Linked DNA regions of Homo sapiens: regions 2, 3, 4 and 5 are each linked to region 1. The links are contacts of gene promoters, found by promoter capture Hi-C in blood cells and fetal thymus (Javierre and others, 2016). All regions are on one chromosome and are shown on one strand. The core of a region is centred on a gene start or on the middle of the fragment in contact, and the rest is flanking DNA. Distances in the headings are between cores, read along the strand shown.

Region 1 (3,779 bases), core at 749-3,248:
TCCGCTGTCGTCTGTGTTTGTCCTTGGAGGCATTATTAAGTCATTTCTTCAGCCGTAAACATCTTATGACCATGGGCCGTGACCGGCAAGGAATGTGTCTTCCTGGTTTTTAAGATGGAGTTGATGATTAAAATGGTGTCACCCCAGCTCTCCCAGGCTCCTGTCTCCCAAACACAGCGGGTGTTAGGATCTGTGTGGAGTCCCGGATGCCAGGTCTGGGGTCCCCTGGGGGACCAGGTGTGGGACTGGGAGGGTTGTGGTGGGGTGAAGGTCTGAGTGTCTGGGTGGGGGGTTCCATGAAGAATTCCAGTAGGAGTCTGCTGGGGGGTCCATGTGGGATTTCAGCCTTGGCCCTGGTAAGGGTCTGGGTGGGGGTTCTGTGCTGGTCTGGGGTTCCCTGAGGGAGCCCAGGTAACTCTGTGGTTGTCTGGGGTTCCCAACCAAGGTCTGAGTAGGGGTCTGCTGTCCCAGTAGGGATCAGGGTGGGGAGGGGGCTCGTGGTCCCTGAAGTAGTCTGGAGTTCTCTGCAGGGGCCGGGAAGGGGGTCTGTGATCCCTGCAGGGTTGTTGGGGGCAGGGAAGTGGAGGGGTAGGTTTGGTGGGTGGTGTCTGTGGCCTGGCAGGAATTGGGGTGGGGTCTGTGGTCTCAGTAGGAACTGGGGTGTGGGGTCCGTGCTTGGGGCAGGTTCTGTGGTGTCAGCAGGAACTGGGGTGTGGGGTCCGTGCTTGGGGCAGGTTCTGTGGTGTCAGTACGAATTAGGGTGTGGGGTCCATGGTCCTTACAGCTGTTCAGAGTCCTCTGTGGGAGTCCTGGTCCATAATCCTGGCATGGCTCTGGGTGGTTGTCTGGGGTTCCCTATGGGGTCCAAGTCCTTGTGGTCCCTGCTGAGGTCTGCGTGGGGTTACATGATTCTGGCTAAGATGGGGAGGGTGGTTCCCGTGGTGGTCCTGGTCCCCTGCAGGGTCTGGGTAGGGGATCTGTGATCCCATGGTGGGGGTCCTGGCTGGGGCTTGAATGGGGTTCCATGGTCTTGGCTGGAGTGTGGGGTCTTGGAGAGGCAGTCCAGCTGGGGTCTGTAGTCCTGGGGGGCGTCCTGGCAGGGGTCTGTGGTCTTGTGGGGTGCTGGCTGGGGCCTGTGGTCCGGGGGGTGGTTGTGATGGAGGTGGAGGTCCTAGAAGGGGGCCCCAGTAGGGGTCTGTGATCCTGGAGAGGGGTCCTGGTGGTGGGGGTCCCAGTGGAGGTCTGTGGTCCTGGGGGGCCCTGGGAGGATCTGTGGTACTGGGGAGTCCTGGTGGAGGTCTGTAGTCCTGGTGGGGTTCTTGGTGGGGTGTCTGGGCGTGCCCCAGTGGGGGGGCCTGTGGTCTTGGGGGTCCCAGCAGGGGTCTGGGGTCCTGGGGGGTGTTCTTGGGAGGAGTCTATGGATCTGACTTGGGTGCTGGCTGGGGTCTGTAGTCCTGGGGGCGTCCTGGCTGGGGCTGTTGGTCTTGTGGTGGTGGGGATCCCTGCTGGGGTCTGCAGTCCTGCCGGGAGGGGGAAGGGTCCCTGCTGGGGTCTGTGGTCCTGGAGGAGGTGTGGAGGGTCCCTGCTGGGGTCTGTGGTCCTGGGGGGGATTCCTGGCTGGGGTCTGTGGTCCTGGCTGGGGGTGTGTGTGGGGGGTCCCTGCTGGGGTCTGTGGTCCTGAAGGGGGGGTCCTGACTGGGGTCAGTGGTCCTGGGGGCGTCCTGGCTGGGGTCTGTGGTCCTGGGGGGGGGGGTCCTGGCTGAAGTCTATGGTCCTTGCAGGGGGGGGTTCCTGGCTGGAGTCTGTGGTCCTGGGGGGGGTGTCCTGGCTGGGGTCGGTTGTCCGCTCGGGGTCCCCAGTCCTGCAGGCGGTGCGGGATCCCAGAGGGCCCGGGCGGGGTCTGGGGTTGGGGGTTCCCCGCAGGCCGGGGCGGTTCGGGGCGGGCAGGGGGCGGTCCGGGGCGCGCGCGTTTCCGCCGTCCGTCCGGGCGGGCGGGCGCAGAGTCCCGCGGGCGGCGCGGAAGCGGCGGCGGCGCGGCCGGGGCAGCCATGTCGCCATTGTCTGCGGCGCGGGCGGCCCTGCGGGTCTACGCGGTAGGCGCCGCGGTGATCCTGGCGCAGCTGCTGCGGCGCTGCCGCGGGGGCTTCCTGGAGCCAGGTCAGCGGGGCGGGGCAGGGGTCAGGGCTCCGGGGACCCGGGTGGGCGCGGGCTGGCTCGGGGGCGGGGGCGCGGGGGCTCCGCGTGACCTTGGCGAGGCGGTGGCGCTCCCGGAAGTGGGGCTGGGCGGGGGTCGAGGTGTGGCCGGGGGTGGGGGGGGGGCGGCGTGCGCGCTGGGACCTCCCCGCCCCGCGCTTTCCGTCCCCGCCGGCTCTTCTGCGCGCCTGGCCCGGCCCGACCCGGCCCGACCCTTCCCTCCCCGCGCGTGTGGCCTCCCCGCCTGTCCCGGGTCGGGCTCCAACCAAGCAGCCCCCGTGCAGCCGCCCCCCCGCGCACCCTGACACCTCCGGGCCATGGCCGGGGACCCGGGGGCTCGCACGCCCCGCGCCCAAGACATCAGGCGGCTCTGCCTGCCGCCTGCGGTCGGCCAGTGACCGCGCGCCCCCGCCAGGCCCCGGAGGGGAGGAGCGGGCGTCCCAGGGACCTCGACCCCTACCCACCCCAGGGTAAGTGAGGATGGGCCCTTCTCCGGAGGACGTCTCCAGAGGGGGCCCAGAGGCGGCTTCTCGGGCACTGGGGAGCCACGGAGGTCTGGTGGGGAGGGCAGGCCCGTTAAGTGGCAACTTTGTTTCCTTGGCCTTTGTAAACATCTCTGAGTCACAGATCTCCAACTTTGCAGGACTCGTTCACTGTCTGAACTCATCAGTGATGACCGCCACTGTGTTTTGTGTATGCAGATAACTTCTGTTCCTAGATTTGCAGGTTCAGAATTTATTATTATTATTATTTTTTGTAATAGGAAGTAGAGATGAAGTCTTGCTCTGTTGCCGAGGCTACTCTCGAACTCCTGGGCTCAAGCAGTCCTCCTGCCTCAGCCTCCCAAAGTGCTGGCATTACAGGCACCAGCTACTGCATCCGACTAATGTTTTAAAGTTTTGTAGACGGGGTCTTGCTATGTTGCTCAGGCTGGTCTCGAACTCCTGGGCTCAAGCGATCTTCCTTCCTTTGCCTCCCAAACTGTTGGGATTACAGGTGTGAGCCACCACACCTGTCTAATGTTTTAATTTTTTTGTGTAGCAATAGGGTCTTGCTACGTTGCCCAGGCTGGTCTGAAACTCATGGGCCGAAGCAATCCTCCTACCTGGGTCCCCCAAAGTGCTGGGTTTACAGGCGTGAGCCACCACGCCTGGCTAATGTTTTAAATTTTTTGTAGAGATGGCATCTCACCATGTTGCCCAGGCTGGTCTTGAACCCCTGGCCTGCAGCAATCCTCCAGTCTGGGCCTCCCAAACTGCTGGGATTACAGACAGAGCGCCACTGTGCCCAGCCCATATTCTCAATTTAAACCTAGAAACCTGTAAACAATTATTTGTGAACTGGAATAAAGGGAATGTTAATTCCATGTTAGGTTAAATGATACTTTGTTTCAAAAATAACAGTTTTCCAAAACAGAGCGTTCAGAGGGTCAGTGTGGTGGGGGTGGGGGTGTACGTTGCCCTGAATGTCTTAAATGTCCAGCCTAAGAAGAGAGCTGTTATTTCTGCCTCTGTAGACAGTTTCATGGCATGTCAGGAGGCCTCTGGAAGACACTACTGCACGCCTCTGGGAGACTGGGAGTCAGC
Region 2 (3,779 bases), core at 544-3,043, 1.2 Mb after region 1:
TAATCCCACCTACTCAGGAGGCTGAGGCAGGTGAATCGCTTGAACCCTGGAGGTGGAGGTTGCGATCAGCCGAGATCTTGCCACTGCACTCCAACCCGGCAACAGAGCAAGATTCCCTCTTTAAAAAAAAAAAATTGAGATGGTGATAGAGTTTGTATGTTTGTACCCTCCAAATATCATGTTGAAATGGGATCCCCAATGTTGGGGGGTGGGGTCTGGTGGTAGGTGTTTGGATCATGGGGTGAATCCCTAGTAAATAGCTTGGTGCAGTCCCCAAGGTAATGAGACAGTAAATGAGCTCTCCTCTGTGAATTCGTGTGAGAGTTTGTTCTTTTACCATCCTGGCTAACATGGTGAAACCCCATCTCTACTAAAAATACACAAAATTAGCCGGGCGTGGTGGTGGGCACCTGTAGTCCCAGCTACTTGGGAGGCTGAGGCAGGAAAATGGCATGAACCCGGGAGGTGGAGGTTGCAGTGAGCCGAGATTGCGCCACTGCACTGCAGCCTGGTGACAGAGTGAGACTGTCTCAAAAAAAGAAAAAAGCCAGGCGCAGTGGCTCACGCCTGTAATCCCAGCACTTTGGGAGGCCGAGGTGGGCGGATCACGAGGTCAGGAGATTGAGACCATCCTGGCTAACATGGTGAAACCCCGTCTGTACCAAAAATACAAAAAAAAAATTAGCCAGACGCTGTGGCAGGCGCCTGTAGTCCCAGCTACTCAGTAGGCTGAGGCAGGAGAATCGCTTGAACCTGGGAGGCGGAGGTTGCAGTGAGCCAAGATCGCGCCACTGCACTCCAGCCTGGGCAACAGAGTGAGACTCCGTCTCAAAAAAATAAAAAAGACCCTGGCTTCTCTCTCGCTTCCTTTCTCACCATGTAATTCCTTCTACCCCTTTGCCTTGCACCATGACTGGAAACCCTCCGCCTCCAGTTCTCAGTTCTCCACTTTCCTCGTATGTCACCTTCAGATGACATTGAGCATTTGTTTATTTATACTTCCCTGCCTTTCCAGAAACAATGGTCCTGTGAATCTTTAACCTCCAGTACTAAGGCCAGAACGTGGCCCTGAGGAATGTGTTCAAAGGACTGAGCTCTGAGATTCATCCCAGCACCTGTAAGCGGCTTCCTGTAGGTGCCTGTCCTGGTCTGTGAACCTGGGGATGGTGATATCTTTTGCTTGATGGACACATGGCCCAGAGAATGTCACTGCTTTTACAGACATAGCCTTGTCTGTGCCATCTGCTTGTTCCTTGCTGGGAAGCCCCAGTTCTTTGCCTTCTGCCATGACTGGAAACCCTCCGCCTCCAGTTCTCCGTTCTCTGCTTCCCTCATACGTCACCTTCAGATGATATTGAGCATTTGTTTATTTATACTTCCCTGCCTTTCCAGAAACAATGGTCCCGTGAATCTTTAACCTCCAGTACTAAGGCCAGAACGTGGCCTGGAGGGATGTGTTCAAAGGACCGAGCTCTGAGATTCATCCCAGCACCTGTAAGCGGCTTCCTGTAGGTGCCTGTCCTGGTCTGTGAACATGGGGATGGTGATATCTTTTGCTTGATGGACACATGGCCCAGAGAATGTCACTGCTTTTACAGACATGGCCTTGTCTGTGCCATCTGCTTGTTCCTTGCTGGGAAGCCCCAGTTCTTTGCCTTCTGCCATGACTGGAAACCCTCCGCCTCCAGTTCTCAGTTCTCCGCTTCCCTCGTACGTCACCTTCAGATGACATTGAGCATTTGTTTATTTATACTTCCCTGCCTTTCCAGAAACAATGGTCCCGTGAATCTTTAACCTCCAGTACTAACGCCAGAACGTGGCCCGGAGGGATGTGTTCAAAGGACCGAGCTCTGAGATACATCCCAGCACCTGTAAGCGGCTTCCTGTAGGTGCCTGTCCTGGTCTGTGAACCTGGGGATGGTGATATCTTTTGCTTGATGGACACATGGCCCAGAGAATGTCACTGTTTGAACAGACATAGCCTTGTCTGTGCCATCTCCTTGTTCCTTGCTGGGAAGCCCCAGTTCTCTCTTTAGAATGAGGGATGTGGGCCAGGCAGGGACTTTCTGACCTGAGTTTCCTCTTAGCTGAAAACTGTGGTTCCTGGTCTCCTTCACCTCCCTTTTCTCAGGGGCAGGGATGGGTACCAGGAGGGGGGGTGGTATGAGGTAAAGCTCAGAGACAGACTTTAGATGGTGGGTTGGGCGAGGTGGCTCACACCTATAATCCCAGCACTTTGGGAGGCCGAACAGGGGCATTTAATAAATCTACACATGGGCCGTGCGCAGTGGCTCACACCTGTAATCCCAGCAGTCTGGGAGGCCGAGGCAGGCAGATCACTTGAGGTCAGGAGTTCGAGAGCAGCCTGGTCATCATGGTGAAACCCCATCTCTAACAAAAATACAAAAAAAATAGCTGGGTGTGGTGGCAGTTGGCTGTAATCCCAGCTACTCGGGAGGCTGAGGCAGGAGAATCGATTGAACCTGGGAGGTGGCCGTTGCAGTGAGCTGAGATCATGCCATTGCACTCCAGCCTGGGCAACAAGAGTGAAATTCTATCTCAAAAAATAAATAAAATAAAATAAAAATAATAAATTCACAAGTCGTGATTTTCCTGGAAAATGTTGATGCTGTTGGGAAGGAGAGAAGTCTGAGGACTCAGATAAGCCTGTTCTGCCTCTGAAGCAGCTCGGCGTTGTAATAAGTAAAGGCACCAGTGGGAAAAGTCTCAGGGTGTTGTCTGCTGAAGCAGACTCAATGAGTTTTCCTGTGTGGGGTGGTGGGAAGGTTGGCAGGTAGACCACAAGGCAAATTAAGATAAGCTGGTGACTCCGGCCTTTGGAACAAAGAAATGGAAAACTACAGCCCCAGGCCGGGAGTGGTGGCTCAAGCCTGTAATCCCAGCACTTTGTTTATCATTATTATTTTGAGAGGGAGTCTTCCTCTGTCACCAGGCCTGAGTGCAGGTGGCGCGACCTCTGCTCACTGCAATCTCTGCCTCCCGGGTTCACGCCATTCTCTTGCCTCAGCCTCCTGAGTAGCTGGGATTACTGGCGTGCATCACCATGCCTGGCCAATTTTTGTATTTTTAGTAGAGACGGGGTTTCACCATGTTGGCCAGGATGGTCTCGAACTCCTGACCTCGTGATCCACCCGCCTCGGCCTCCCAAAATGCTGGGACTACAGGCGTGATCCACCACACCCGGCATCTATCTATGTGTCTGTCTATCTATCTATCTATCTATCTATCTATCTATCTATCTATCATCTATCACTTATCTATCCTATCAATTATCTACCCTATCATCTATCAATTATCTATCATCTGTCTACCTATCACCTACCATCTATCATATCTATAATGATTACTTATTATATCAATTAATCTTCTATTACATCTATTATTTGTCTATGCTCTCTTTGTATCTACTCTCTCTATATATCTATATGGATAGATATCTATGTATATCTATATGGATATATCTATGTGGATATATCTGTGGATATATCTATATGGATATATCTATGTGGATATACCCATATGGGTATATCTATGTGGATATACCCATATGGGTATATCTATGTGGATATACCCATATGGGTATATCTATGTGGATATACCCATATGGGTATATCTATGTGGATATACCCATATGGGTATATCTATGTGGATATACCCATATGGGTATATCTATGTGGATATATCCATATGGGTATATCTATGTGGACATATCTATATGGATATATCTATATGGATAGATATCATAATCATTTATTATA
Region 3 (3,779 bases), core at 478-2,977, 1.0 Mb after region 1:
TTTCGTTTTCTCCGTAATGTGTTGGACACCCTCGGATGTCATTCCACAGTTAACAAAATTAACTGTAGGATTCCATTTTCTGCATCTACACATCACTGGCATAGGCTCTGGGTATATTATTATTTTTGACATTTTATTTTAAAATCTTTTGAGTCACAAAGGCTGGGGAAACAGTGCCCGGAGTCTCCACGCCACGCTGGGTTTATGTGGAGCAGGTGCGGCTGGGCTCTGGGGTTTAAGAAAAATCCTCGCACAGCTCACGCGCGCCCCCTGCAGCCTGCGGCGCGCAAGGGACCCGCTGCCCTGGAGGTGGGCTCCGTTTAGGGAGGGAAGGCACAGCCGGGCGTCCCCCACCTCACAGCGCCCGCCCTGGTCCCATCCCTGCGCCCCCAGCACCGCGCCCCCAGGGGGTCCCCACGCCGCGCCCATCACCACGCCCGCGCGGATCCCCAGTGTCCACGCCCCTCCCACAAGGACCCCCACCTTCTCCACGCCCCTCCCACCAGGCACGCGGGGACCCCCCCCCCACCCATCTCCCCGCCCTTCCCACCCGGCCCGCGGGGACCCCCATATCCATACCCCTCCGAGCATTCTCGCGGGGACCCTCATCTCCAAACCCCTCCCACCATCCCCGCGGGGATCCCCATCTCCACGCCCCTCCCACCAGGCCCGTGGACACCCCCATCTCCACGCCCCTCCCACCAGGCCCGTGGACACCCCCATCTCCACGCCCCTCCCACCAGGCCCGTGGACACCCCCATCTCCACGCCCCTCCCACCAGGCCCGTGGACACCCCCATCTCCACGCCCCTCCCACCAGGCCCGTGGACACCCCCATCTCCACGCCCCTCCCACCAGGCCCGTGGACACCCCCATCTCCACTCCCCTCCCACCAGGCACGAGGACATCCCCATCCCCACGCCACTCGCACCGGGTCCGCGGGGAACCCCCTATCTCTACCTTCCCCGACGCGGCTCCCACAAGACCCCCATCTCTGCGCCGGGCCCCTCCACGTGCGGGTAAGAACCCCCCACCCCCACAACTGCCCACAACCGCAGCTGCGGAAACCCAGCATTTCCACTCCCCACGCCGCGCCTGCAAGGAACCCCAAGTATCCACGCCAGCCTTTCCTCCCCGGGACCCCGCAGCTGCCTGCGCCATTGCAGGTCTTGGCGCCGCAGGCGGGGTGGGGAGGGGCGGGGCGAGCGCCGGGGGCGGGGACGGGGCCCGGGAGGCGGAGCTGGGGGCGGTGCTTCACCAAGCGGCCGGGGCGGTGCCCGGGGGGGAGGCGGGCGGGGGTGTGGCCTGGGCGTGGCCTCACGGGGAGCTCAATGGCGGCGTGGCATGGGCGTGGCCTGGCGGAGAGGGCAAGGAGGTGTGGCCTGGGCGTGGCCTGGCGGAGCGGTCAATGGCGGCGTGACATGGGCGTGGCCTGGCGGAGAGGGCAATGGAGGTGTGGCCTGGGCGTGGCCTGACGGAGAGGGCAATGGAGGCGTGGTCTGGGCGTGGTCTCAGGGGAGATCAATGGGGCGTGACATGGGCGTGGCCTGGTGGAGAGGGCAATGGAGGTGTGGCCTGGGCGAGGCCTGACGGAGTGTTCAATGGAGGCGTGGCCTGGGCGCGGTCTCGCGGGGAGGCCACTGAAGGCGCGGACTGGGCGTGGCCTCGCGGAGGCGGGCGGGGGCGTGGCCTCGCGGAGGCGGGACTCTGGCCGCCTGTTTTTTTTGCAGCCGCGCTGCGCGCACCGCGGGCTCCGGGCTCAGAAGTGCGGACGCCCGGCTCCCGGCGTGGACGCCATGGTGCTGTGCCCGGTGATTGGGAAGCTGCTGCACAAGCGCGTGGTGCTGGCCAGCGCCTCCCCACGCCGTCAGGAGATCCTCAGCAACGCGGTACGGCCTGGGCCTGGGCGGGGCAGGGGACCGGGGACGGAGGGGCTGAACCCCGGAGGGCCCAGCGACTCAGGAACTCTAGGGATAGGGATGGGAGAGTGACCCGAGACCCTTAGGGATGGGGGAGGGGAGAGTGTCCCGGGACCTCCAGGGATAGGGTTGGGGAGAGTGACCCGGAACCTCTAGGGATGGGGGAGGGGAGAGTAACCCGGAACCCCCTAGGCATGGGGGTGGGGAGTGACCTGGGTCCCCATAGGGATGGGGGAGGGGATCGTAACCCGGGACCCCTAGGAATGGGGAGGGTAGAGTGACCCAGGACCGCTAGGGATGGGGACAGCAGAGTGACCCCGGAGCCCCATGGATGGGGATGAGGAGAGTAACCCGGGACCCCCAGGCATGGGGATGGGGAGAGTAACCCGGGACCTCCAGGGTTGGGGATGGGGAGAGTAAGCCGAGACCCCCCCTAGGGATGGGGGTGGGGGAGTAACCCGGGACCCCTAGGGATGGGGGAGAGGAGAGTAACCCGGGACCCCCAGGCATGGGGATGGGGAGAGTAAGCCGAGACCCCCAGGAATGGGGTTGGGGAGAATAACCCGGGACCCCTAGGGATGGGGTTGGGGAGAGTGACCCAGGACCCCCTAGGGATGGGGGAGGGGAGAGTAACCCGGGACCCCCCTAGGGGTGGGGGAGGGGAGAGAAACCCGGGACACCTTAGGGATGGGGTTGGAGAGAGTAACCTGTAACCTGGGACCCCCTAGCGATGGGGGTGGGGAGAGTAACCCAGGACGCCCTAGGCATGTGGTTGGGGAGAGTGACCCGGGACCCCCTAGGGATGGGGAGGGAGGAGTGACCCAGGACCGCTAGGGATGGGGACAGCAGAGTGACCCCGGAGCCCCATGGATGGGGATGGGGAGAGTAACCCGGGACCCCCAGGCATGGGGATGGGGAGAGTAACCCGGGACCTCCAGGGTTGGGGATAGGGAGAGTAAGCCGAGACCCCCCTAGGGATGGGGGTGGGGAGAGTAACCCGGGACCCCTAGGGATGGGGGAGAGGAGAGTAACCCGGGACCCCTAGGAATGGGGAGGTCAAGTGACCCGGGACCCCCCTAGGGATGGGGGTGGGGAGAGTGACCCGAAACCCCTAGGCATGGGGTTGCAGGGAGTGACCCAGAACCCCCTAGGAATGGGGATGGGAGAGTAACCTGGGACCCCCTAGGGATGGGGGAGGGGAGAGTAAGCCGGGATCCCCCTAGGGATGGGGGTAGGGAGAGTAACCCGGGACCCAAAAGGATGAGGGAGGGGAGAGTGACCTGGAACCCCTAGGCATGGGGTTGGGGAGAGTGACCCAGGACCCCCTAGGGATGGGGGAGGGAAGGGTGACCCGGGACCCCCAAGGAATGGGGAGGGGAGAGTGACCCAGGACCACCTAGGGATGGGGAAGGGGAGAGTAACCCAGGACCCCCTAGGGATGGGGGTGGGGAGAGTAACCCAGGACGCCCTAGGCATGGGGTTGGGGAGAGTGACCTGGGACCCCCTTAGGGATGGGGAGGGAGGAGTGTCCCAGGACCCCCTAGGGATGGGGAGGGAGGAGTGTCCCAGGACCCCCTAGGAATGGGGAGGGGAGAGTGATCCAGGACCGCCTAGGGATGGGGGAGGGGAGAGTGATCCGGAATCCCTAGGTATGGGGGAGGGGAGAGTGACCCAGGACCCCCTAGGAATGGAGAAAGCAGAGTGACCCGGGACCCCTAGGGATGGGGGAGGGGAGAATAACCCAGGACCCCTAGGGATGGGGGAGGGGAGAGTGAGCCAGGACCCCCTAGGAATGGGGAGGGCAGAGTGACCCGGGACCCATAGGGATGGGGGAGGGCAGAGTGACCCGGGACCCCTAGGG
Region 4 (3,779 bases), core at 432-2,931, 1.0 Mb after region 1:
AAACTTACCTGTGTATGAAAGGAGGCTCCAGAGCAAACGAACTCCCAGAGGTTACTTCTGAAGGGAAGTGGGACCTGGAGGGGAAAGATCCAAAGACAAACACGAATACAGAGCTCTCTATTTCTCTTTATTCTTTTACTCATAACAAGTGTGTGTGTGTGTTCTGTAATTGGAAGATCTAAAAATTAAACCAAAGTTGAAAACTCAATGGTGTCTGGAAGTTCAGAAGAGGTTGCATCTGCTTCTGTGGCTGAGGGGACTTGGAATGTGGGAACCTGGAAGTGGTGGTATCAACCCCGGTTTTATTAGGATAAGTTGCAGTTCAGTGGGGAGGGACCACCAGAAAGGCAGACAGCAGGGGGCAGGAGGCTTCTGGTATATTCCATGATAGTCTTTGCACCATGAGCCCACCACCTAGCTTCTCTGTTTTCCCAGCCCCTGCTATCTATGTTCACATAAAAAGATACCTGTACCGGGAGCAGTGGCTCACACCTGCAATCCCAGCACTTTGGGAGGCCGAGGTGGGTGGATCATAAGGTCAGGAGTTCGAGACCAGCCTGGCCAACATGCTGGAACCCCCATCTCTACTAAAAATACAAAAATTAGCCAAGCATGGTGGCAGGCGCCTGTAGTCCCAGATATTCAGGAGGCTGAGGCAAGAGAATCGCTTGAACCCGGGAGGCGGAGGTTGCAGTGAGCCGAGATCGTGCCACTTCACTCCAGCCTGGACAACAGAGCGAGACTCTGTCTCAAAAAAATAAATAAATAAATAAAAGATACCTGTGCCACTTCAGCTTCCCATATTGAAAACCACCAACTCTCTTCCTACTTCCTCCCTCCCAAAAGGACCTGTCTGTCACCCTACAACCTCTCTGCAATCTCTTATCTACAGTCTGCCTTCTGCAATCTCTCTAGTTTATATGATCCCTGTTTGCAAAAGATATGTTGGTAATAATTTCTGCTTCCCTGCTGGGCACACACACACACACACACACACATACGCCTGCCAGCACCATTTTTCATTTTAAAAGCATTGGTGTCCATCATACAGAGAAATGCTTAGGATTGGAAACAGGAGATACCAATGGAAGGTTCCACATGAGTCAAGAACTTCTCTTTGTTATTGCTTCTGGCCACAGCTCTGACGTCTGACCCCACCCCAGCTCAGGGGCCCAAGAGATGCTTTAGCTCATGTTCCATCTGTCTTCCTGAAGACCAGGTCTCCTCCTCTGTGATGGGGTGGGAGGTCCGTGACGGCAAGGCAATGAGGGGCACGTGCAGGCATTTTAAGGAATCGCTCTTCATCCACAGCTGGTCACTAACCATGATGAGACCACTGTCCCTTTCCACGACACCAGCTTCTTGCTAGGAACATCTGCCTGGGGTCTTTTCTCTCCCCGAAAGCCTCTTGCAGACATTCTTTGGAAAGTACTCCTGAGCTCTGTGTGTTTGTTGAAGGCTGCTCTTGTCACACAGTTGCTTGAGGGCAGGTTTCTCAGCCTTAGCACTGCTGACATTTCAGCCCAGATGATCCTCTGTGGTGGGGCCATCCTGTGTACTGTAGGGTGTTGAGCAGTGTCCCTGGGATCTACCCACCAGATGCCAGACGCATCTTCCCAATTATGATACCTGAATCATTCACATTTGCAAACTATTGAATGGATAAATAATTGATGCATAGATAAATAATTGATAGATTGATGAACACGTATATGTGATTGTTAGATAACTGATTCACAGATGATAGATGTAATTAATAGATAACTGATTGGTAGGTAATTGATATGAATAGATGAAAGATCCATAGAAAGATGATTGATTCATAATTGATAGATATGATTGCTAGATAGATAAGTAATTGATAGAGAGAAAATTGATAGGTAGATAGATGATCGATTGATAGATAATTGATATAGATAGATGATAGATCAAGGGTTGCAAGACGATTGATATAGATAGATGATAGATGATAGATGGATGACAGGGGTTAGATCAACAAATGGATTCATGGATAGACAGATGGTGAATTTCTTCTTCTTCTTCTTCTTTTTTTTTTTTTGAGATGCAGTCTTGCTCTGTCGCCCAGGCTGGGGTGCAATGGCACAATCTCAGCTCACTGCAACCTCCGCCTCCCAGGTCCAAGTGCTTCTCCTGCCTCAGCCTCCCAAGTAGCTGGGATTAGAGGCACCCGCCACCACACCTGGCTAGTTTTTGTATTTTGAGTAGAGACGGGGCTTCACCGTGTTGGCCAAGCTGGTCTCAAACTCCTGACCTCAGGTGATCCACCCACCTCGGCCTCCCAAAGTGCTGAGATTACAGGTGTGAGCCACTGCTCCAGGCTGACGGTGAAGTTCTTATGCTCATGCCAGGTTGTCAACCTCAGCACTGTAGATATTTGAGGCTGGATGCTTCTCTGTGGTGGGGACCCTCCTGTGCATGGTAGGGTGTTGAGCACCATCCCTGGGCTCCACCCACCAGATCCCAGTAGCATCCTTCCTTAAGTTGTGGCAACCAGGGATGTTTCCTACATTTCCAACTATTCTTGAGGGTAGGGGAAGCCTTCTAGGTGACCCTTGTTCTTCTAGACCTGGCATCAGCCACCCTTGGCTACCTCTCAAACATCTATATGACCCATTATATTTCTTTTTTTTTTTTCTTTTTGAGGCAGAGTCTCACTTTGTCACCCAGGCTGGAGTGCAGTGGTGCCATCTAGGCTTACTGCAAGCTCTGCCTCCGGGGTTCATGCCATTCTCCTGCCTCAGCCTCCCGAGTAGCTGGGACTACAGGCACCCGCCACCACGCCCGGCTAATTTTTTTTTTCTTTTTTGTATTTTTAGTAGAGAAGGGGTTTCACCGTGTTAGCCAGGATGGTCTCCATCTCCTGACCTCATGATCTGCCCACCTCAGCCTCCCAAAGTGCTGGGATTACAGACATGAGCCACCGTGCCCAGCCGACCCATTATATTTCTAAATCGATATCAAGGACTCTTGCTCAAACAGGTCTGGGTGCACTAACAGTGACCCTGAGACCACATTGTAAAATCCTGAACAACTTGGTCATAGGAGGTGTCCCAAAGCTGGATTCTTCCTGTGACCCTTGTAGGTCAGCACCAGGTGTATACCTGTACCTCCTCCCTCCTGGAGCTGGAAGGGGTCTGATGCCTGGGTCATGGAGAGCTCTGGACAGCCCCTGTGCCATAGATCCACATGTCAAAGGTCAAGAAGATGTCTTGGCCCCTGCAGGGAGATGCTTGAGCAGGGAGCTCTGAGCCTTGCTTCCTTCCCTACCCTAGTGGTTCAATGCAACCATGGCAGGTGAGGAGAGGGTCCTATGCAGCCATTCCTCCTGGGCTTTGGCAAATCACATCATAATCTATATGCTCCACTCTGCTAGTGTTGGACATTTCTCAACAGTAAGTCAACCAAAGAAAGGGGGACTGCATGAATACATGTTGTTGTTGTTATTGCTTTGCAGTGCCGTCTTTATATCTTCAAGTCTTGAGATCCTTGTCTTCCATTGAGTTTCTGAGGCCCATTGGCTTGTTCCTCATTTCTTTCTCTTATCCTATAATCTTGTGCTTTTCATGCTTTATCTTTCTTTTAAGGTTCTTCCTCTCTTTTATTTGGTATGATGACGCTTTCTCTAATTTCTTTGAAGTCTGTTGGTTAAAACTTTTCCTCTCTTTTCTCGGTGTATTGGTTTGCGACAGCTGCCATAACTAATTACCACTGATGTGGTGGCTTAAATAACAGCAATGCATTCTCTCCCCATCCTGGAG
Region 5 (3,779 bases), core at 605-3,104, 1.0 Mb after region 1:
TGACTGAATGTTTTAAGGGGACACCACCTTCCTTCCCAGCCTGTTCCCTCCAGGAAAATAGTAGAGGACAGAGGCTCCAAGAAGTAGATTTGGGAACTGCAGACAAGTTGCTTCCTGTGAACTGAGCGGAGAGAGAGAGAAACCCTCTGAGAGGGCAGAGGGCAGGATCCCAGGGAGTCGCACCCGGGAGGGCTGTGGCTGTGGCTGTGAGCCTTCTCATGTGGCTCCCCAACGCCAAGGCAGGCAGCCACTGAACAATTGTGAATAACCATTTCCCACCCTGTAACGTGCTGTCTCTACTGAGAAGCTGGCGGGGGAGCATGACTCCAGATGGCCTCGAGATGGTCTTTGGGATTCAACAGCAGGGAGAAGCCAGTGGTACCCAAGTTGACGTCCATTCAGCCTAGGTCTCAGCAGCATCCCAAGTTCACTTCCATTCAGCCTAGGTTTCGGCAGCATCTCTGACGTCTGCCTTCTCCCAACTGCTTCAGAGTGGATGGGTAGTCAGCTCGGCCGCCGTAATAAAACACTGCAAACTGGGTGGACTGTAAACAACAGACATTGTTTCTCCCACAGTCCTGGAGGCTGGAGGTCTGAGATCCAGGTGTGGGCAGGGCTGGTTCCTCCTGAGGCCTCTCTTGTGGACTTAGAGACATCGACTTCTCCCTGTGTCCTCACAGGGTCATCTCTCTGTGTGTGTCTGTGTCCTCATCTCCTCTTCTTATGAGGTGTCTTAGTCCATCTCAGGCTGCTGTCACAGAATACCGTAGACTGGGGGGCTTATACACAACAGACATTGATTCTCCCACAGTCCTGGAGGGTGGAGGTCTGAGATCCAGGTATGGGCAGGGCTGGTTCCTCCTGAGGCCTCTCTCCTGGGCTTGGAGACGCCGTCTTCTCCCTGTGTCCTCACAGGGTCATCTCTCTGTATGTGTCTGTGTCCTCATCTCCTCTTCTTATGAGGTGTCTTTGTCCATTTCGAACGACTATCCCAGAATACCATAGACTGGGCAGCTTAGAAACAACAAACATTGATTCTCCCACAGTCCTGGAGGCTGGAGGTCTGAGATCCAGGTATGGGCAGGGCTGGTTCCTCCTGAGGCCTCTCTCCTGGGCTTGGAGATGCCGTCTTCTCCCTGTGTCCTCACAGTGTCGTCCCTCTGTGTGTGTCTGTGTCCTCATCTCCTCTTCTTATGAGGACACCGGTCCTATTGGATCAGGGCCCACTCCTGGTGACCTCATTTTACTGTAGTTAACTCTTTAAAGAGGTAACCTCCAAATACAGCCACATTGTGTGGTCCTAGGGGTTAGGACTTTAACGTATGAATTTGGGAGGGTACAATGCAGCCTGTAACAGACACAACACTCAGAAAATATATACTGAGCTCGCTGTTTGTAATAAAGGGCTCTCCCTTTAATTTTTAAGACAGGGTCCTGCTCTGTCACCCAGGCTGGAGTGCAGTGGTGTGAGTTCAATTCAGTTCCGAACAGTGAGTACAGTGCAGTTCAGCTCACTGCAGCCTCAAGCTTCCAAATAAAAAACTGTCTTAGCATCATCCAATGAGTACTGACTACTTTTAAATAGTGAATACGCAGCCGGGCGCAGTGGCTCATGCCCGTAATCCCAGCACTTTGGGAGGCCGAGGCGGGTGGATCACCTGAGGTCAGGAGTTCAAGACCAGCCTGACCAACATGATGAAACCCTGTCTCTACTAAAAAAAAAATACAAAAAAAAAAAAAAATTAGCCAGGTGTGGTGATGTATGCCTGTCTTCCCAGCTACTTGGGAGGCTGAGGCAGAATCATTTGAACCTGGGAGGAGGAAGTGACAGTGAGCGGAGACGGTGCCATTGCACTCCAGGTTGGGAGGCAGAGCGAGACTCAGTCTCAAAAGAAAACAAATAGTGACTATGGACATACATATTTTTAAAAATTAGTATTTTCACATAAAGCATAAAGTAATATCCAATATATCCAAGAGAAGCTGTCCTTAAGTTTAACCCATTTTCTAATCCTAAACTAACCCTTCTGAGGCAATGGTCCCGCATACATGGAGGCCAAACTCATTTTTTTTTTTTAAAGCCTAATTGAAAAATACCGCATTAGGAGAAAAACACATAAAATCCCCCTCGGATTACCTGACCTCGCTCCCTGGGGCCCAGGGCCAAAAAGAGGAAGCTTTTCCATCTATTGTTGCTCTGGCCAGTTTCATAACCGCCATGCACCAAGCTCAGTCTGCAGATGACAGATCGCAGCTAAGAGCAGCTTGCTGGGTCTCCGGAGGCTGCTGGTGTCTGTCTCAAGGTGCGGTGCAGGCACAGCCAGTGGGATTTTTTTCCCAGCAGAGCAGAGAGCTGGCCCTCCACTCCTGCTCCTGTGCGGAGCTCACTCCCATAGGGCAGCCGCCTCTGGCCCAGGAGGAGGGTCCCCCAGGACCCCCTGCCTAGCTTGACGGCTGCTCAGACAAGCACCACCAGACCAGCATCACCCAGGACGTCTGCCCTCCCTGCAGCCACCGTTGTAAGTCACGGGGACCTGGGAGTGTTCGGGTAGGAGAGGCTGCTCTGCAGAAATACCCCAGCTAGCAGGGCATATCCAGGCCAGAGACGCTGCTGAATGCCAGAGAAAGCCCTCAGCTCAGCCTCCCTTTGGGGTGTGTGATTTTTAACCCGGGCTCACCAGAGTGCTGCAAAAGGACACACAGCCTCCAGGCAGGAGCTGTGCCATTTGCACAAGCTCTCGAGGGTCGCAGAGAGGGCTGAGGTTGGCCTAAAACAGACCCCCTTCTTGCACATCTTCAGACGTTGCCGCAAGAAAAGAGCAAAATCGTCTTGTCCGTTTTAACGGAGATTCCCAGTTTGCAAGCCAATTGTTCCTTTGACGAGGGGTACAGGCCGGCCCACGCCGAGATGCTGGGTTGGGTGGCTCTCGGATGAAGAAAGTCCCACCTTCTTTAAAATGCGCTCTCCCAGAAATCTTCTTCACACCTGTCTTTGGCTTTTATTTTGCTTTTGTTTTGTGGGGAGGAGACGTTGTTCTTGGTTTTTCGCTAATAAAAATAGTTCACGTCGACTGAGTGAGGAGGAAGCAGCAGCCACTTTTACAAGGGCTTTATCTCTGCGATCTTTCCTTCCTTCCCTCCCTCCCTCCTCCCTCCTTCCTCCTTCCTCCTCCTTCCCTCCCTCCTCCTTCCTCCTTCCTCCTCCTTCCTCCTTCCCTCCCTCCCTCCTTCCTCCTTCCTCCCTCCCCCTCCCCTCCCCTCCCCTCCCCTCCCCTCCCCTCCCCTCCCCTCCTCTCCTGTCCTCTCTTCTCCTCTCCTTTCTTTCCTTTCTTGTCTCGCACTGTTGCCCAGGCTGGAGTGCAGTGGCGTGACCTCTGCTCACTGCAACCTCCGCCTCCCGGGTTCAAGTGATTCTCCTGCCTCAGCCTCCCACGTAGCTGGGATTACAGGCGCCCACCCCAACGCCCGGCTAATTTTTTGTATTTTTTAGTAGAGATGGGGTCTCACTATGTTGACCAGGCTGATCTCGAACTCCCGACCTCATGATCCACCCGCTTCGGCCTCCCAAAGTGCGCCTGGCCTGATCTCTGGGATTTTCGAAACTTCGTGAGACAGGTGCTGTTACAATCATCCCTGTTTTACCAGTAACGGAAACTGAGGCAGACATGGAGGCGGGGGTGTGTTCAAGACCTACAACCAGAAAGAGGCAGAGGTGGGCGCTGAGTGCTGCTCGTTAGCCTTGAACCACTGCACTGGGGAATTAGTGATGAATGATACGT

What was found. The method cuts DNA at HindIII sites, captures the fragments that hold promoters and counts their contacts. A CHiCAGO score of 5 or more calls a contact.
Region 2: a contact is called between a fragment that was not itself captured here and the fragment with the promoter of DHRSX in region 1, in 8 of 17 cell types (naive CD8 T cells, non-activated CD4 T cells, activated CD4 T cells and 5 more). The highest score is 10.7, in naive CD8 T cells.
Region 3: the fragment with the promoter of ASMTL here is called in contact with the fragment with the promoter of DHRSX in region 1 in 7 of 17 cell types (total CD8 T cells, naive CD8 T cells, total B cells and 4 more); the score reaches 8.0 in total CD8 T cells.
Region 4: a contact is called between a fragment that was not itself captured here and the fragment with the promoter of DHRSX in region 1, in 5 of 17 cell types (naive B cells, total B cells, erythroblasts and 2 more). The highest score is 8.7, in naive B cells.
Region 5: a fragment that was not itself captured here is called in contact with the fragment with the promoter of DHRSX in region 1 in 3 of 17 cell types (total B cells, fetal thymus and naive B cells); the score reaches 8.0 in total B cells.

Annotation. Positions count from the first base shown.
Region 1 is chrX:2,499,195-2,502,973 of GRCh38, reverse strand. It overlaps DHRSX (dehydrogenase/reductase X-linked), which reads left to right and starts at 1,998. Exons shown (of 7, transcript NM_145177.3): 1 at 1,998-2,157. The coding sequence starts at 2,049. ZBED1 (zinc finger BED-type containing 1) reads left to right here and starts at 1,998. Exons shown (of 2, transcript NM_001171136.2): 1 at 1,998-2,157. The HindIII fragment of the contact is 4,150 bases long and covers 1-3,779 here.
Region 2 is chrX:1,251,326-1,255,104 of GRCh38, reverse strand. No RefSeq gene overlaps it. Among named protein-coding and RNA genes, the nearest start is that of CSF2RA, 16 kb to the left of the region's middle. The HindIII fragment of the contact is 8,598 bases long and covers 1-3,779 here.
Region 3 is chrX:1,450,857-1,454,635 of GRCh38, reverse strand. It overlaps ASMTL (acetylserotonin O-methyltransferase like), which reads left to right and starts at 1,727. Exons shown (of 13, transcript NM_004192.4): 1 at 1,727-1,888. The coding sequence starts at 1,796. The HindIII fragment of the contact is 27,509 bases long and covers 1-3,779 here.
Region 4 is chrX:1,475,469-1,479,247 of GRCh38, reverse strand. All of the region lies in intron 1 of P2RY8 (P2Y receptor family member 8), which reads left to right. Among named protein-coding and RNA genes, the nearest start is that of ASMTL, 24 kb to the right of the region's middle. The HindIII fragment of the contact is 4,346 bases long and covers 1-3,779 here.
Region 5 is chrX:1,492,833-1,496,611 of GRCh38, reverse strand. The region is part of intron 1 of P2RY8 (P2Y receptor family member 8); the gene reads left to right. Among named protein-coding and RNA genes, the nearest start is that of ASMTL, 42 kb to the right of the region's middle. The HindIII fragment of the contact is 650 bases long and covers 1,530-2,179 here.